2 separate regions of the Homo sapiens genome follow, and region 2 is linked to region 1. Evidence: promoter capture Hi-C in human tissues and cell types (Jung and others, 2019). All regions are on one chromosome and are shown on one strand. Each heading gives the region's core, a stretch centred on a gene start or on the middle of the fragment in contact. The rest is flanking DNA. Distances are from core to core; before and after follow the strand shown. Region 1 holds the start of CARTPT (CART prepropeptide). Region 2 has its middle 52 kb from the start of CARTPT.

What was found. The method cuts DNA at HindIII sites, captures the fragments that hold promoters and counts their contacts. A contact is called where the count stands out against the background at its distance.
Region 2: a contact is called between a fragment that was not itself captured here and the fragment with the promoter of CARTPT in region 1, in 2 of the 25 tissues and cell types used here (mesenchymal stem cells and spleen).

What each region holds. Positions count from the first base shown.
Region 1 is chr5:71,717,591-71,723,158 of GRCh38, forward strand. It overlaps CARTPT (CART prepropeptide), which reads left to right and starts at 1,685. Exons shown (of 3, transcript NM_004291.4): 1 at 1,685-1,862; 2 at 2,290-2,373; 3 at 2,918-3,455. The coding sequence starts at 1,704. The coding sequence ends at 3,025. RefSeq lists an enhancer at 1,823-2,709. The HindIII fragment of the contact is 5,473 bases long and covers 247-5,568 here.
Region 2 is chr5:71,768,053-71,774,484 of GRCh38, forward strand. No RefSeq gene overlaps it. Among named protein-coding and RNA genes, the nearest start is that of CARTPT, 52 kb to the left of the region's middle. The HindIII fragment of the contact is 4,329 bases long and covers 1-3,458 here.

The DNA.
Region 1 (5,568 bases), core at 435-2,934:
ATGCAATAAATTTGTGGGAGAAAAGTATTGATAGATGGTTTGGATTGAGTAGTCATAGATATTTACACTGAGATTTAAATAACAGAAGTAGTGAGCCTTTTGGAAATACAGGAAGACCTTTCAAGGAGGGGTAAGTGCAAAGACATCAAAGTATGAATGAGATTGGCCTGCTAGAGGACCAGAAAGAAGGCCATGTGAGGTTGGAGTGGAGGAGTCTGGGGCAGAGTGGTAGAACATGAGGTGGAGAGGGGTGAAGATCATATAATGCTTTGCAAGTCAGGATGAGGAATCTAGATTCAGTGCTTAGTAAGATTAGGAGTCATTAGTGTATTTTAAGGGGAAAAATACTCTGGTTGGTGGTGAACTATGGAGTAGAGGAAGGCAAGAGAAGATAGGGTGGGGATTAAGTGGTAGACATTAAGTTGACTGGGGCAGCTGTCTAGGACTGGGTTGTAGTAATGGGGATGGAGAAGAGTGGATGAATTTAGGAACAGTTGAGGGAAAGATGGTGTGGTGAAGGAAGCCAGGTGAGCAAGCAGGTCTAAGCGGGAAAGCATTGCTTTTCCTACAGGAATTTTCCTGTGCATTCAGGCTGTAAGGATCTCAACTTTTAAAAAAGCCACATTGTTCTCCCAAGTTGTTGGGGAGCTGGTTCACCATTGACTTCTGATCTCTGGAGATATTTTCATAATCATGGAGCTGTCTTTCTTTTCACTCTTTTACTCTCTTTCTAGACAGGCTTCTTGGATACCAAGGGTTGGTGGTGGGTGGGGGGAGGTTCTGGGGATGGTTAAATTTGCCTGGGCAGCCTCAAAGTTCAAAAAGGAGGGACAGGGAAGCTTAGCTAAGAACCAGGAGTTTGACATACTTAATCTCTCATTTCATCCTACTGATGACTTTGTGAGGTATATCTTTTTAATCCTAGATCTACAAAAGAGAAAGCTGAGGCTTGGAGAGGTTCTTCATTTTGTTCAAAGTCATACAACTTTTACGTGGTGTAGCCAGGATGGGAACCAGAGCCTGGCTCTCTGCACTTCCAACACCACTGCTGAATCCGGGTTTGTCTGTTTTCCCTCTCTTCTTTTAACTATTGTCACACAGATTCCATCATAGAACCCATCACGTGGAGGGCCACTATTTCTCTTTCTTTTGTATAGTATGTTTGCTTCCCCTACCCCACAGAGTAAGGTGCTCAGCAAATGTGGCTGTCTGGAGGCAACACCCCCTTCTCACCGCCACACTTGGGGTTGGGGTGCGAGGCAAGGCAGGGCTGGCGAGGTGGATGTTGCAGCTGTCACCACTGCTAGGTGTTGGGAAACGACTCTCCTGCCTGTGCATTGACCCGAAGGCATTTTCCATTTCCTAGGCCCCTCCCGCTTCCCGTCCCTCACCTCTAGCCCCTCGGCTTCAGCTCAGGCCCCTCGGGGAGCATCCCTTGCCGTGAGACTGACAGCCTTTGGGGGCGCAGGGTCCTGTTCTCTGCGCTCTAGCCCATCTGTGCGCAGAGCCTCGTTCCCAGGCGCCTGGAACCCGGCGGGCATTGACGTCAAGCGCCGGCGGAGCGCTGCCTACAGACGGTTGACCCGGGCCCTCCTCCACACCCCCTTCCTTCTTCGCCTCCTCCCTCTTTCCTGCACGGGGGCTCGGGCTCACTATAAAAGGTGGGAGCGCGTGGTGCCCCAGCAACGACGAGTTTCAGAACGATGGAGAGCTCCCGCGTGAGGCTGCTGCCCCTCCTGGGCGCCGCCCTGCTGCTGATGCTACCTCTGTTGGGTACCCGTGCCCAGGAGGACGCCGAGCTCCAGCCCCGAGCCCTGGACATCTACTCTGCCGTGGATGATGCCTCCCACGAGAAGGAGCTGGTCGGTATTCCCCTCGCTCTCGACCCCCTTGAGCTGTCGCCTTGTCTCTTCTCTTGCACGCCTCCCTCCTCCCCCCACCCCCACTCCTATTCCCAGAGTCAGGGCGCGGGGAGCTGAGCGCAACGCCCAGGCACCCACTGCCATCCGAAGAGCGTCTCGAGCTCACGGGCTCCTGGCAGTCTGTTGAGCGAATCCCTCATCCCGGCCCCTCTGAGCAACAGGGACCCCAGCGGCTCAGAGACCCGCGGTCAGTACCTGGGACAGCGTCCGCTAAGTTTCCACCCCTCGACCATTCCCTGTGTCCGCGGAGTCCCACCGCAGAGTGCGTGTGGGTCCGGGGCTCCTTATAACTAGGGCTGGAAGTGCGCACCTGGGCTGGGCTCGCAGCCAAGGCGGCAACTTCAGGCTCCGAAGCGGTGTGTTGCAGATCGAAGCGCTGCAAGAAGTCTTGAAGAAGCTCAAGAGTAAACGTGTTCCCATCTATGAGAAGAAGTATGGCCAAGTCCCCATGGTAAGGTTTGTGGTCACTCCCTTCCCGTGTTTTTCCAAGAGAAAGTACACCGCCTTGAATCGTACACACAGTCTTCTCCGTAGGATGTGGCTAAATAACTTAGGTAATGGGCTTGCAGGATTCTGTGGGCTCCTTCTTCCTTCCCGGGTGAGGAAATGGGAAAGCAGGAACAGGGGTTGTAAGAAAGTGTAAGTCTATTGTTTGTTGCTCAGGAAAAAGGTCTGATTTTTTTCCCCTCTGAGAGGGCAAGAAAAGGAGCCAGGAAATGTGATGCTCCCCTTCCCACGCCCCCCAACCCTCGCCACTTAAAGGTGGAAGAAACTAGGATAAAACTAATAATGTAAGTTTCTTTAAAAAATGTACTCTCACTGAGGTTATAAGCACAAGGCTCCCTGTTTCAGATCTGACTGTACGTAGACCTCTTGTGATGGTGATGGGGTCCAATTGCCCCTTTCAAGAGACAGAAATTGCGTTGACTGTGAGACTTGCCTGTTGGGAACCTGGGTTTGTTCATACTCGATGACCACACATTTTGTTGTTTCAGTGTGACGCCGGTGAGCAGTGTGCAGTGAGGAAAGGGGCAAGGATCGGGAAGCTGTGTGACTGTCCCCGAGGAACCTCCTGCAATTCCTTCCTCCTGAAGTGCTTATGAAGGGGCGTCCATTCTCCTCCATACATCCCCATCCCTCTACTTTCCCCAGAGGACCACACCTTCCTCCCTGGAGTTTGGCTTAAGCAACAGATAAAGTTTTTATTTTCCTCTGAAGGGAAAGGGCTCTTTTCCTGCTGTTTCAAAAATAAAAGAACACATTAGATGTTACTGTGTGAAGAATAATGCCTTGTATGGTGTTGATACGTGTGTGAAGTATTCTTATTTTATTTGTCTGACAAACTCTTGTGTACCTTTGTGTAAAGAAGGGAAGCTTTGTTTGAAAATTGTATTTTTGTATGTGGCATGGCAGAATGAAAATTAGATCTAGCTAATCTCGGTAGATGTCATTACAACCTGGAAAATAAATCACCCTAAGTGACACAAATTGAAGCATGTACAAATTATACATAATAAAGTGTTTTTAATAATTGCCCATAGTGCACTGCTGTTTTCATATAAGTAATTTAAGTGGAAATGGTGAGATTAATCATGCTGTTGTTTTCAAAGAAAAATATTTTAAAAATAGCAGCCTATTGGGAAAATGGCACCTTAGCTCCAAGGAGTTTTGATCGTTAATTAGAAGTTTGCCAAGCCAGTTTTAGTATACTCTATTTTTCTTTGATTGCAGCGATGTGGTGTGTGTATGTGTGTGTGTATGTGTGTGTGTGTGTGTGTGTGAGAGAGAGAGAGAGAAAGAGAGAGATGAATGAGATGGAGATGGTTGGAGTTGAGGTTATATAATTTTGTTTATTAAAACCTTTAGCCAGACCCTTTACTTTAAACAGTGAGACCAATAAACTATAAACAGTTTCATGTTTTAGTCACATTAAAAGCAATTTGAAAAATTAGAAATTTTGTTTTGACAACTCCCTTATTAGAAAATATACATTGATTTAAAGATATGGGCTGTTTAGGGTTGTTATTTGTCTAAAGACTCCAAGGTTATAAGACCCATTCATTCCCACAAGTAAATTCACACTCTTGGAAAAAATTCTCTATTCCAGGAGAAAGAGTCATTTCAGAAAATAGTTTTGAGGGGAACAAATAAAAATTGGAGGAGGTGAGAATTCAACTCAAGAAATTAAAACATATTAAATGTAAAGTTAAGTAGCTTTTAAATATTTCTGAGTGCTTATTTGAGGTCACATTTCCAAGGGTTTAAACCAGACTAAGTAACATCTAAGTAGCAGCATCATGAGAGAAATAAATGTTAACAGCTTCCTAATCCAAACTCAAGAGGCACTTGCATAATAGCAGAATTGAAAAATAAAGCCCCTCCACGGATTCATAGGGAGTTTTCTGATAGAAAATATTCTTATACACAGTTACCATTTTCAGTGTGATTATTATTATTAGCATGCCTAATCTTGCAAGATAGATATTATTACTATTTTTCAGAGTAGAAAACAGAGGGCAAGAGAATTATGGAATTTGCTTACACCATATAATCCTAAATAATAATTTTAGCTGTAATCCCTTTGACTCCAAAGATTTGTCCTTTTTCTCCATGTCACTTAGGCAATCAACAGACTGGGCTTTGAATTCCCCAGAAAGCACATCTTTCCTTAATAAAAATTGCTCACTGGGGGCCAAGGTGTATTTTTTGGGGCTGTGTTTCCGTTTGAATTCCCCTACACAAGCCTATATGTGATTAGAATGTGGTATTTTTGTTTGTTTCTTTTCTTTTCTTTTCTTTTTTTTTTTTTTTTTGAGACAGGGTCTCACTCTGTCACCCAGGCTGAAGTGCAGTGGCACAATTACGGCTCACTGCAGCTTCGATCTCCCAGGCTCAAGTGATCCTCCCACCTCAGGCTTCTAAGTAGCTTGGACCACAAGCATGCACCACCATGCCTGGCTAACTTTTGTATTTTTAGTAGAGACGGAGCTTCGCCATGTTGTCCAGGCTGATCTCAAACTCCTGGGCTTAAGCGATCTGCCCACCTTGGCCTCCCAAAGTGCTGGGATTACAGGCGCGACACACGTCGCCCAGGCAGAATGGGATATGTTTTAATTTTTAATAAGTGCAAGTAGTTATTTAATAGTTTCACAGTCTGCTACTTTTCCAGAAATCATTTCAGTTAGAATATTCTTGAGCCCCTTAACTATTCCTATCTATCACTCCTAAATAAGTCAGATCAGGAAATTGCTTTAGTGAACAGGCAGTACCGTCAGGGCTAACACACAGAACTGCTTTCTCTCCTTATTATTTTTTTTAGAGACAAGGTCTCACTCTGTTGCCTAGGCTGGAGTGCAGTGGTGCCATCCTGGCTCACTGCAGACTCAAATTCCTGGGCTTAAGGAAACCTCCCACCTCAGCCTCCCAAGTAGCTAGGACTATAGATGCACACAACCACACCTGGCTGATTTTTTAAAATTAATTTTTGGAGAGATGGGGTCTTGCTTTATTGCCCAGGCTAGGTCTTGACCTCCTGGGCTCAGGCAATCCTGCCTCTGCCTTCCAAAGCACTGAAATTACAGGTATGAGCCATCACACCTGGCCAGAACTGCTTTCCCTTTTAGCCTGGTGTGTTTCCCCAAAAGCA
Region 2 (6,432 bases), core at 44-2,543, 50 kb after region 1:
ACCTGTTGGGTTACCTTTTCTAGGTTCTAAGTTCCCCTATATTCTGCTTATAACTTCCACTTTTGCTCCAGTTGGCAAGATACCCTAAGAGAAAGGTAGATTTTTGAGGAGCGGGGAAACTGGCCAGAATGGGGAAAAGGGGGAAAATTCGCTTTCATATTGCGGGTTAGTATCCCAACAGTGTAAAACAACTGTTACGTTCCCTCTATGTGCGCCAGAAGGTGGTGCTCTGAAAAACTGAGTAGCTGATGGCAAAAAATAATTTAAACATTCTGGAACAACAGGGTAGGATGGCTGCTTCTGGTGGCATTGAATAACATAAAGTAAGAGAATAGCAAAATCAGATCTCTAAATTATCACATCAGGCTAATTTTCTGTGGCCTTTCTGTTTGGCTCTTCAAGACTCACAATTACTGATATAATCATGTTGCTGTGGGCATATTTCATATGACCTTCCTTCCTTATTTTATTAGTTTAGATAAGCTGTGAGTGCATTAGACCAGACGGTTTAGCTGTTGGCCATTTTAATGATAGTTTTTTTTTTTTTTTTTTTTTGAGACACTCTTGCTCTGTTGCCCAGGCTGGAGTGCAGTGGCATGATCTTGGCTCACTGCAACCTCTGCCTCCCAGGTTCAAGCAATTCTCATGCTTCAGCCTCCCAAGTAGCTGGAATTACAGGCGTATGCCACTGCGCCTGGTTAATTTTTGTATTTTTGGTAGAGACAGGGTTTCACCATGTTGGCCAGGGTAGTCTCAAACTCTTGACCTCAGATGATCCACCTGCCTTGGCCTCCCAAAGTGCTGGGATTACAGTGTGAGCCACTGCGCCCGGCCAGAGAGTTTATTTATTAATTTACTTTATTTATATTCTACACACACACACACACGGACACCCCTTTACACATACTCCTGGGAAAAATGCAGGGAGCAGAGCACACAATTATGGAGGTTTGAAAATACCTTCTTTTTTTCTTTTCTCTTTTTAGCTACACCTGCTGGAATGGGAGTATTTTTAAATACCTTCTAATGACACCAGCAAATAAACAAAAGTTGTGTTATCTTCACAATCACTATATGCTAGAAGGCTTAAAAAACTTCAGTATCTACAGAATTTGGAGGGAGACAAGTAAAGTTTAAAATAAGCAAAGTTGTCTTTTGTGTGTGATGGCAATAGAAAGTTATTCTTAGATGTGTATGGGCGCAGGAATCACACCATCCACGCTACCTTCTTGAAAAAACTGCTCCAGCCAACCAAGAGAAGCAAACTGGAGAGCTAAATAAGGGCAAGCATGGTCTGAAAGGACTTGTGGTTCTCACCTAAGCCTAATCCCAAACCTAACTGTAACCCTGCACTCAGGACCCCTGTGGAGTGTTTATTTTCAGGGGGATTTTGCAGGCAAAGGTGAAGCTTGGTCCAGCAGTGCTTCCTCAAGCTGCTTCCTCACCCTGCTGCTCATTTCCTGTACCAGGAAATGTGTCTCTCACCATACCTCCTTTGCTCCCTGGTGCAGCTAGAATTTAAAGCTTTGTTTGGTGAACATAGGCAATTTGTATTTTGTTTATGTATTTGCAAACAAAAGTAATCTGTACAGAGGGTAATGATTCAGTGCTGAGAAATAAATACATTTTCCCCTGATTCCACCAAGCAGGATGCTTAATGAAACATAATGAACTTTTTTATTGCCAAGCCGAGTAATGATTTTCTGAGTCTTTAAAACTTATATTGGAGGATTTTATCCTACAAAAATAAAAGAATTAGCTTATAAGGATATGTATAAAGATACACATTGAATGTGACAAAGCGAAGTAAAACAACTTGAATGCCATCAATAGGGAGTGATTGAATAAACTGTGGCATGTCCAGATTTCTAGAATATTACATAGCTACTAATAAGGAGTTCGATTTATATGCAATGACCGATAGGAAAGGCCACCAGCAAAGTACATTGCAGAGAAATGTATATAAATGATTGTATTTTTTGTAAAATCAGAAAAGCCTTTTATTGGTGTGAATATTTTCAGTTGTGTGCATTCATATGAATGTAGAAAAATGTGGACACTAAATTAACATTTCTTGTTTTCAGGAAGGGATAATAGCAGGAGTGAGAGTCACGGGAAAGGCAAATGTTGGGTTTTTCTTTGATACTCAGGATTTTTTTTTCTTGGAAAATAAGCGGCAATACAAGCATGTATTGTTTTTTCAGTTTGAAAGAAATCTGATAGAGTAGATAATAAAGATAATTTATCTTGAATGAAATGACTTCAGTATTTTTTTAAATTGAGAAAGATGAATACATGACCCAGGGACAGAAGTGATGTCAAATTCCTTTGCACATCATTTTCTACCTGTGATTTTCTATCTATGATTTTCTATCTATGATGTGTATCTGCTTAAAAATTACTGTATATTAATTGTTCTCTACTTGATCATTTATATACCATATAATCCAGCCTTTATATGTGTGCAGTTTGGTGATTTTTACTATACTTGGAATGGTGCAACCTGCAAACATCACCACTATCTAATTACAGAACAGTTTCATCACCCCAAAGAGAAATCCTGCACCCATTAGCAGTCATTCTTCATTCTCTGCCCTTCCACCCATCCAGACCTGGGCATCTACTTCTGTGTGTATGGATTTGCCTATTCTGAAACTTCATATAAATGATCCTACAATATGTTGCCTTTTGTGTCTAGCTTCTTTGACTTAGCATAATGTTTTCAAGGTTTATTCATGTGGTAGCATGTGTCACTATTTCATTCCCATTTTTTTTTTTTTTTTTTGAGACGGAGTCTCCCTCTGTCGCCCAGGCCGGAGTGCAGTGGCTCGATCTCTGGTCACTGCAACCTCTGTCTCCCGGGTTCAAGCGATTCTCCTGCCTTAGCCTCCTGAGTAGCTGGGATTACAGGTGCCCGCCACCTCACTTGGCTAATTTTTTTTTGTATTTTTAGTAGAGATGGGGTTTCAGCATGTTGGTCAGGCTGGTCTCGAACTCCTGACCTCTTGATCCGCCTGCTGTGGCCTCCTAAAGTGCTGGAATTACAGGCGTGAGCCACCGCGCCCAACCATTTCATTCCTTTTATAGACAAATAATATTCTCTTATAGTGGCATATTACATTTTGTTTATCCATTCATCAGTTGATTGACATTTAAATTGTTTCCATTTTTTGTCTATTTTGAATATGGCTGCTATGAACATTTGCGGACAAGTTTTTGTGTGGACACATGTTTTAAATTTTTTTTTGTATATACCTAGGAGTGAAATTGCTGGATCATGTTAGCTCCATGTTTAACATTTTTTGGAAACCATCACATTGTTTTCCAAATCAGCTGTGCCATTTTGTAATACCACAAAGAAAGTATGAGGGTTAAAATGTCTTCATATCCTTGCCAACACTTGCTATTTTCTGTTTTTTTAATTGTGGTTATCCTGATGGGTATGAAATGGTTTTGATTTTCTTTATCCCAATGACATGCCGTTGAACATTTAAAATGTTCTTTTGGTTATTTGTATTTCTTCTCCAAATAATTGTCTTTTCAAATTCTTTGCCCATTTAAAATAGTTGAGCTCTTTGTCTTCTTCTTATTGTTGAGTTGTAAGAGTCCTTTGCTCTGTATAGAAGTCCCTTGGCAGCTACATGATTTGCAAATATTTTCTCCCATTCTGTGGGTTCTCTTTTCATTTTCTTGACAGTATCATTTGAAACACAGAAATTTTAAATTTTGATGTAAGTCCAATTTATCTATTTTTTTCTTTTCATGCTTTGTGTTTTATCTAAGAAACTACTGCCTAATCCAGGAAGATTTAGTCCTGTAAAATTCTTTCTTCTAAGAATTTTACAGTTTTAGCTTTTACATGTAGGCCTATGATCCTGAGTTCATTTTTGTCTTTTTGAGATGGGGTCTTGCTATGTTGCCCAGGCTGGTCTCAAGCTCCTGAGCTTGAGATCAGGGATCCTCCTGCCTCTCAGCCTCCTGAGTAGCAGGACTACAGGTACATGTCACTGTTTCTGAGTTAACTTTTATATATGGTGTGAAGTAGAGGTCAAACTTTATTTTTGGCATGTAGATATTCTGTCGTCCCAGCACCATTTATTTAAAAAAAACTATTCTGTCCATATTCAAGTGTCTTGTCACCCTTGTCGAAAATCAGTTGATGATAGGCATCCAGGCTTATTTCTGGACTCTCAATTAATTCTATTGATCTGTTTGTCTATCTTTATGACTGTACCATACTTCATTACTGTTGCTTAGTAGTAAGTGTTGTAAGTGGGAAGTGTGAATCCTCTCAATTTTGTTCTTCTTTTTAAAGATTTTTTTTTTTTTTTTTTGCTATTCTGGGTCCCATGCAGCTGTATATAAATTTTAGGATCAGCTTGCCAATGTCTGCAAAGAAACCAGGTGAATTTTTATAGAGATTACATTGAATCTGTAGAACAATTTGGGAAGTACTGCCATCTTAACAATATTAAGCCTTCCAATCCATAAACAGGGGATGTCTTTCTATTTATTTAGAACTTAAATTTCAGTATACAAGTCTTGCACTTCTTTTGTTAAATTTATTCCTAAGTATTTTATTCTTTTTGATGCTATTGTAACTAAAACTGTTTTCTTAATTGCAGTTTCATGTTGTTCATTGCTAGTGTATAGAAATATAGCTGCTTTTTGTATATTGATCTTGTGTTGTGAAACTTGCTGAACACTTTAATTAATTTTTATAGTTTTTTTGCATTCCTTAGGATTTTCTATATACAAGATCATGTTATCTCTGAGCAGAGATGGTTCTACTTCTTCCTTACAATTGGATATTATCTATTTCTCTTGCCCAGGCAAATTTGTGTTCAGTACAACATTGAATAGGGTGGTAAAAGTGAATATTTTTCCTGTTTTTAATGGTAGGGGGAAAGCATTCAGTCTTTCCCTATTAAGTATTATGTTAACTGTAGATTTTTTAAAAGATGCTCTTTATTGGACTGAGAAAGTTCCCTTCTATTTCTACTTTGTTGAATGCTTTTATCATGAAAGGGTGTTGGATTTCATCAATTTTGTCTTCTGTATCTATCGAGGTAATCATATGGGGTTTGTTCTTTATTCTATTAATATTGTGTATTACATTGATTGTTTATCAGATGTTAAACCAATGTTGCATTCTTGTGATAAACTCCACTTGGTCATGGTGTATAATCTTTTTGTGTGTTGCTGGAGTCAGTTTGTTAGCATTTTCTTGAGTATTTTTGCGTTTATATTGTGCTAGTCTATTTTGCATTGCTGTACAGTAATACTTGAGATTGGGTAATTTATAAAGAAAAGAGGTTTGTTTGGCTTGAAGTTCTGCAGGCTGTACATGAAGCTAGTGCTGGCATCCGTTTCTGCTGAGGTGCTCAGGAAGCTTACGATCATGATGGAAGGTGAAGGGAAGCCATGACAAAATGCCAAAAGCAATTGCAACAAAAGCAAAAAATGACAAATGGGATCTAATTAAACTTAGAGCTTCTGTACAGCAAAAGAAACTGTCAACAGAGTAAATGACCTACAGAATGGGAGAAAATATCTGCAAACTATGCCTCTGGCAAAAGTCTAATATCCCGCATCTACAAAGAACTTAAACAAATTTACAACAAACAAACAACCCCATTAAAAAGTAGGTAAAGGACATGAACAGACATTTTTCAAAAGAAGACATACATGCGGCCAACAAGCATATGAGAAAAAGCTCAACATCACTGATCATTGGAGAAATGCAAATCAAAACCACAATGAGACACCATCTCACACCAGTCAGAATGGCTATTATTAAAAAGTCAAAAAAATAACAGATGCTGGCAAGGTTGCAGAGAAAAGGGGACGCGTATACACTGTTGGTGGGAGTGTAAATTAGTTCAAATTGTGGAAAGCAGTGTGTGAGTCCTCAAAGAGCTAAAAACAGAGCTACCATCTAACCCAGCAATCCCATTACTGGATATATACCCAAAGGAATATAAATCACCCTACCACAAAGACACATGGCGTGCATATGTTCAATGCAGCATTATTCACAATAGCAAAGACATGAAATCAATCTAAGTGCCCATCAATGGCAGATTGGACAAATAAAACATGGTACATACAGACCATGGAATACCATATAGCTATAAAAAAGAATGAGATCATGTCTATTGTGGGAATATGGTTGGAGCTGGAGGCCATTATCCTTAGCAAACTAATGCAGGAACAGAAAACCAAATACTGCATGTTCTCATTTACAAGTGGGAGCTAAATGATGAGAACTCATGGACACAAGGAGGGGAACAATAGACACTGGGGCCTACTTGAGGGTGGAGGATGGGAGGAGGGAGGGGATCAGAAAAAATAACTGTTGGGTACTAGGCTCAGTACCTTGGTGGTGAAATAAGCTGTATAACAAACCCCCACATGTACCCCAGAGCCCCC